Regions from separate parts of the Homo sapiens genome. Here region 1 is linked to region 2. The links are contacts of gene promoters, found by promoter capture Hi-C in human tissues and cell types (Jung and others, 2019). All regions are on one chromosome and are shown on one strand. Each heading gives the region's core, a stretch centred on a gene start or on the middle of the fragment in contact. The rest is flanking DNA. Distances are from core to core; before and after follow the strand shown.

Region 1 (3,489 bases), core at 907-3,406, 76 kb after region 2:
TTTACTCAAGTTGCTGTAGAATCTTTTTGGATGACAGGCTTAATATTTCAGATTGAACTTGAACATAATAGATATAAATAAGCAGAGTTAAGACCATTGGGGAAGTACAACTTTTAGAAAACTAAATATAACATGGGGGCTATGTATGTGTGTGTTCTGGGGGGAACTCACTGTGAGTCAGCGTCATACTGCTTTATTTTCTTAATTATTGGGCATCCACTGCCAGTTAACCAGAGGAGCATAACATGTGGGAGCTGCTGGGTAACATTTCCAAAATACTTAGCATTAGTCAGATATGTTTTTAGAATTATGTATCCATTTTGGCTGAAGGAAAATGTGGAGTGTTTGTCAAGGGTACAGAGCATGGTAACTAGATGCAGAGGAGCACTGCAAACTAGAACCCATTGGGAGAAGCTAATAAATAAGAATTCATTACTTAGCGTGATCAAAGGCAGAAGAAGGGTATTAATTTAATGGTCTTCTGTTGCATGTATAGTTATTGTGTAGAAGATGATATAATTATTTCCATTATGAATGGAATTAGGGAAATGGATTTACATTAAAGGAGATTTTGAAGGGGCATAAAGAATTTCTTGACTCTAAGGACTGTTGGACAGTGGAAAGACTTGTATTCTGGAAGTGTGAAATATGTTTCTTACAGAACAGGAATAGAGTGGGTACTGCTTGCCAGTTAGAGGGAGGTGCAGTTGGGGTAGTAATTAACAAACTTTCCAGATCCCAGTTTGTACTACTCATCTCATATTGTGTTTGACATTTTTGGGAAGTAAATAAGTACCCCCTTTTTGTCTTTATTTTTTCATAGTTATTACAAATATGAAGACCTTGCTTTTAATGTTTCTATAATACATTTCAAGCAATTATGAGATTAAACTGTAAATTGAAAATTACTTCACCTGCAAATTCACTTGCTGCTGATTATTGTATGAACCCTTACAATGTTGTCAATTCCAACTTTCCTTTCTTTTCCTTCTTTAAAAGATTCACTGCGTGCTGTCCTCACTTGTTCTACAATGAGTGCCAAATCTGCTATCAGCAAGGAAATTTTTGCACCTCTTGATGAAAGGATGCTGGGAGCTGTCCAAGTCAAGAGGAGGACAAAGAAAAAGATTCCTTTCTTGGCAACTGGAGGTCAAGGCGAATATTTAACTTATATCTGCCTGTCAGGTAATGAGAACCAGATATTAATATTATTAAAATAACTTCCATTTTAAAACAGTTCATTCTGAGGTATCCAGGAGGTTTACATTCACAGGTTTTGTAGGTGTCTGCACTGTCTTGCTCCTTTTCCCCGTTTTTCTGGTCTTCCTCTTTACTGGTGACACCTTGTTTTTGAGGTTGCCGCGTATTGGAAAGGTAGTGAAGTTCAATTCGGGTGTATTTTCCAGTTCATTAAGAGCTTTCGTAAAATGTTTCGCAGACTTGTTTGTCCATACTTGCCCTCACGGGGACACTGACAGAGAATGGGCTATCCTCTGGAATTCTCGTTTTAGAACAGTTGCTGGTATCTGAATAATTGTCATTACTCACAGCCTGACTTTCATTGGCTTTGTTTTTCTAGACAGTTGCCAATAATCAGTAATCACTTGTCTTAAGATAAATATTGGCACCTTATGGAATGTGAGGAGGTTGATTCAGTTCACAAGTCGTTGCTTTGCCTGACAGCCATTGCCTTGTCAAGAAGAGGCATCTGTTTTATTAAGCTTTGAATCTTGTTTTTTTTTTTTCTTTCTCTTTCTGTTTGTGATTGTAGGAGATCTGTGGGATTTACAATGGATTCGTATTAAGATTTTTGAGATAAAATCTGGATAAATTTTTCATGGAGTTATTGGTGATGCTAATCTAAACACATGGAGCATTTGTGATATTTCTGATAATATTTCTTGTATGGAGTGATGGAAGATTTAAGCTTATTTTAGTTTATCTTTTTAAAAACTTTCCTTCAATTGTAGTTTTGGGAATAAAACTTTATGTTTTTGGACCCATTTCTAGCTTTTTAAAAAATTAAACCTTTGATCATTTATCAGAATTTATTTTAGGGTAAAAGTAACTTTTTACCAGAAAGAACATGTAAATTTCTAAGACTGTGTCTTAGATTAAAATGAAGTAAGAACATAGCACTTTGGTAAGAATTATTTTTCAAAGGGCCAGGCGCGGTGGCTCATGCCTATAATGCTCAGCACTTTGGGAGGCCAAGGCAGGAGGATCATCTGAGGTCAGGAGTTCAAGACCAGCCTGGCCAACATAGTGAAACCCTGTCTCTATTAAAAATAAAAAAATTAGCCAGGCATGATGGCACTCACCTGTACTCCCAGCTACTCAGGCGGCTGAGACAGGAGAATTGCTTGAACCCAGGAGGCAGAGGTTGCAGTGAGCCGAGATCACACCACTGCACTCCAGCCTGGCTGACAGAGTGAGACTCTGTCTCAAAAAAAAAAAAAAAAAAAAAAAAGGAAGAAAGCTTTTATTTAAATAAGTGTGAGAGAATTGACCTTGAAACATTGGTTTCTGTTTATTCCAAATAAGGATTAGGTTAATAAAAAAATTGGGTTATTGTCAGAAGATATTTGTATTTCTTTAGTGCGCTAAGCAGTGCCGGGCATATTCTAGGGCCTCAATTAATATCTAGTGACTAAGTGGAAGAAAGAAGTAGCCTCACCTAATACTTTCCTAGAATTTTGTTAATGAAATTCAAGTGTGTTTTGTTTTGTTTTGAGACAGGGTCTCACTCTGTTGCCCAGGCTGGAGTGTAGTAGCACAACCATGGCTCACTGTAGCCTTGACCTCCTTGGGTTCAATCGATCCTCCTGCCTCAGCCTCCCAAGAGCTGGGACTGCAGGCACACAACACCATGCCCAGCTGATGTTTGTATTTTTTTGTAAAGATGAGTTCTCACTCTGTTGCCTAGGCTGGTCTCGAACTCCTGGGCTCAAGCAATCCTCCTACTTAGGTCTCCCAAAGTGCTGGGATTACAGGGATAAACCACCATTTTTGTAGTTTTTGTAGCAATGGGGTCTTGTTATGTTGCCCAGGCTGGTCTTCAAACAGTCATTTCCCCTTGGCCTCCAAAAGTGCTGGGATTACAGGCATGAGCTATCACACCCAGCCCAGGTCTTAAAAATATTTTCATATTCTTAAATTTAGATTCCACAGTTCTGCTTACGCAAACAATGAATAGAATACACTTAAATAAAGACTGATTTGCATTTGAGCTGAGCTGAACATCGGCCTAGTATGGATACCTAGTGATTCTAATTTTGTTAAGCTCTATTTTCTCAATATTTCATTGACATTTCTTATAGATGAGTAGTTGAAAGAAAGGTAGACGGTCTAGAAGCTACTTGAATTTTGCCTAGTACCTATGTATAATTGAAGAATAGTTGTTTGCATTTTAGGCATATACTGTTGTCTGCCTAATTTTGATCATGAAGCCTGCAAGAGTGATATAGGGACTCTAACAGCCTCATCTCA
Region 2 (3,367 bases), core at 848-3,347:
GAGTCCTCTTGACTAGATCTGCAATATTGAGAACAAAAAGAGGCAAGTGAAGATAAAAAAGGAAGGTAGTAGAGGGAGATGACTGGCAATAGAAGCTAGTACAGTAGTATCTTACTTCACAAAATTATTGAGTTACCCAAAAGCTGATTCCAAAGTTTTGTAAATATCATCCCAACACATTAGAAAGGCTTGCTAAATTAAAGAAGCTTGCTACTTAGAGCTTTTGTCAAGCAAAAAGGCCCTTATTTCAATTCAAATTTTACATAGATGACTTGTAGGTAAGAACTCTCAACATTTTCAAAGCCCTTAGACATACATTTCTTTGGATTCTCACAAAAACGCCATGAGAATTGTTTTCCCTTCCACAGATGAGGAAAGTGAAGCTTAGAGGTTGAGCCACTTGCCCATGGAAGCCTGGTAGGGAAATGGCTGAGGTTAAGACCAGGACCCCGGCACACTACTCATTGGCACTAAGGTAGCCCCATGACATGTCTCTACAGAGATAGGCAGAGCAAAAGAAACTTACTTTTTCAGGCAATTTTCTCTGATTTTCATAAAACTGTAGCTACCAAATGGGGATACCTAGGGTATCAGTTTTATGATATCCTAGGTATCCCCGTTTCTCCCATTCTTCCCCTCCAAACCATCTTCCTGGGTCTGCTGCCCTGTCCATCTTCACAGAATTCAGTTCGGATTGTCTCCTCCCCCAGCATCTCTGCTATCTCCACGTAGTCTACAAACTAAGTGCAGGAGCCACAGACTGACAGTCAGGACTTCTGCCTGAGCCCCCATCCACAGCTCAAACCCTCTTTCCTATTTCACTATGCTAATGCTTACCCCTTGCACTCCAAACAAGCAGGTCTGTGTACCACCATCTAACACCCCAACAGGGCCAGGCTAGGGTGAGGTGAGTCACAGCACTTAAAGGTTCACCAAAGAATTCAGTAATCAAGGTTAATATTTTAATGGAATATTTAAAAAAATCAAAATTAATATCAAAAATGCATGATGAAAAATAACAAAATTTTAAATAAAGACAGGGTAAGTTTAGGGGTTTTTCCTATTGCTTCAGGCTCAAAAGTGCCTTCCGGGGCACTGTTATCGGCCCTGCAGTGACTCCCCACACAGATACTTTTACTAATGATGTTTCCCAAAAGTTAGTTCTTACAACCGCTTTCTACATTAGTAACGTCTTTCTTCTTGAACGCTCCAGCATTTAAGTGTAGCGCTCTACTGTCAGGAAAACCCATTTCCCCTAGTAACTAGTAGTACTTCGAAGATATTCTGAATCATCTTGGATCCTTTCCAGCACTTTCCCAAACCACAGTGAGCACTCAGCACCACTTCGCTAAAAGAGTGCAGAATCACAATGCTCAAATCACTGTCTGGGGGGTTCAGCAGGGAGGGGACGCAGATATGTTTTGTTTAGTCCAGGGTGTTTTGAGAAAATTGAATTTGTTATCAAGATTTTACAAATCAGGATATTGTACATGAATATACTCCGTCATTTCTGGAAAAATCAGAAAATCTAGCAACACTAGGTCTAATTCTTGCCCGATAGCAAGGGACCCTGAGAGCAGATAAGCGGCCCTGCCTTCGGAGCTCTCTCCAGTTCGCCTTCCCCCAGTTACAGTGCCTGTCAGGCCCCATTAGATCTTTGAGTTTGCTATCGTAAGAATAAAGGAAGGAGCGCACAGGATAAAAACCCATCGGCTGGGTCTATTCGTTTTTTCCTAGAGAAAAAAAAAAATGTTTCCTGGTTGTCCTTTCGAATATAGTCTCACAGAGAAGCTCACAGAAGCAGCCCACCTTTCTAGCCCACAAACTTCCCACAAGCCGTGAAAGTCGCACCGGCTCTTGCACCCAGATCGGTTTCTCCCGGGTCTTTGGCTCAGGGCCCCCGCCCCTACATTGGCCTTTCCCTTCCTCTGCCACCTCCGCGCTCCGAGGCCTGGGGCGGGTCGCGGGTCCCGGCCCCCAGCCCCCAGCCCCTAGCCGCTGCTCTTTGCCCCGGGCCAGGGCGCTCGGGCTCGCCCACGGCGGCACTGAGCATGCTCAGAGGCGGCCGCGCGGGCAGGTTTGCTTCGCAGGCGCTCGCACTCGGCGGCGGGCGGGCGCGCGGCTGCAGCTGGAGCTCCAGCGCCCGGAGTTGGAGTTGCCGGGAGTTTCCCCCCAACCCCTCCCTTTTCGCGCGCGGCAGCAGGAGCCGGCGCGGGAGCCGCGAGCGGCGGCGAGCCAGCACCCGGGCCGGCTAAGCCTTGTCCGGAGCCCGGAGCCCCGCGCGGGGCAGCCCCCCGGGGAGGAGCCTCGTGCTCTGGGACGCGTGCCGCGCACTGGCACGGCAGGGGCGCGAGCCAGGCTGCACGGTAGGACCGGGGCGAGGGGAGCCAGGCGGTCAGGGCGGAGGCCAAGCCCGGGAGATGCGGTTGCAGCCGCCACGGCTGTTGGGGCGCCTGGCGCTCCGTCCGAGGCGGGTGGCTGTGAGGCCAGGGGAGTAGGCAGGCTCCCAGAGAGATTCTTCCAAGTTGGCGGGTGGCGGGAGAGGGGGCCGCGCGCCCCGGCGCAGCTGCTTTGTGCGCGCAGAGAGGGACTCGTGTCCCTGGTTCTCTCCAACCCTGGGACCCGTTGTGCGGGCAGTATTGGGCAAGCCGCAGAACGGAGCGATTTCCTCCGAGAAAGTTGAGGATGGAGCCTTTTTTTCCGCACCGTCCCCGCGATGGCATGGGCCCCGAGAATGCTGCCCCGAGGCTCCCAGTGTGGGGGAGCTCGGGGTCGCTGCGCCTCTAGCTTGAGCGCAGAAATCCGCGAATCACTCCGATCTTCGCGAACTCTGGCATCTTCTAGGAAAATCATTACTGCCAAAACTGAGGCGAGCTTTTCTGGCGGGCACGGCACCCTGCCCCCAGGGCGCTGGCCCTGGGCGATGCCCCCTTTCCGATCTCAGGCTTGGTCAAGGGCGCCAGGTTCCGAATTCGCGCTTGCCGTGCACGCCGGCATCGAGCCTCACCAACACCGCCGGGCAACGTGGCTGGAGTAGGTGGGTGGCTTGATTTTCCCTCCAACCTTTCCTCAGGTTTACAACACCCCGCCACCTCACCACCCCACCCCGTTCATCTTCACAGAGGACAGGACCTGCAGGTGGAGAATTTGGAAAGACATCTTGTTCTTTAGGAGAAAGTCCCCGGGGTGTATCTGCCCTTGGTTCTGGCCCCAGGATTTCATAACGAACCTTCTCCCCTTCCTATTACGCTTCCCTAGGGACTGGGTGGGAGAGAATAGGATCGGTAGGTCCGCAGGAACTTCCATCTCATTCCACCCTCTCCTAAGATTGCCTTCCGGGCGACCCCAGGACCCTGGAACTGGCATT

Evidence for each region. The method cuts DNA at HindIII sites, captures the fragments that hold promoters and counts their contacts. A contact is called where the count stands out against the background at its distance.
Region 1: a fragment that was not itself captured here is called in contact with the fragment with the promoter of STXBP6 in region 2 in 7 of the 25 tissues and cell types used here (H1 embryonic stem cells, IMR-90 fibroblasts, dorsolateral prefrontal cortex and 4 more).

What each region holds. Positions count from the first base shown.
Region 1 is chr14:24,972,361-24,975,849 of GRCh38, reverse strand. STXBP6 (syntaxin binding protein 6) reads left to right here. Exons shown (of 6, transcript NM_001394410.1): 2 at 1,000-1,185. The coding sequence starts at 1,032. Among named protein-coding and RNA genes, the nearest start is that of STXBP6, 76 kb to the left of the region's middle. The HindIII fragment of the contact is 4,072 bases long and covers 121-3,489 here.
Region 2 is chr14:25,048,877-25,052,243 of GRCh38, reverse strand. STXBP6 (syntaxin binding protein 6) reads left to right here and starts at 2,097. Exons shown (of 6, transcript NM_001394410.1): 1 at 2,097-2,366. It overlaps LOC124903295 (a long non-coding RNA gene), which reads right to left and starts at 1,900. Exons shown (of 2, transcript XR_007064091.1): 1 at 1,810-1,900; 2 at 1-18. The HindIII fragment of the contact is 10,437 bases long and covers 1-3,367 here.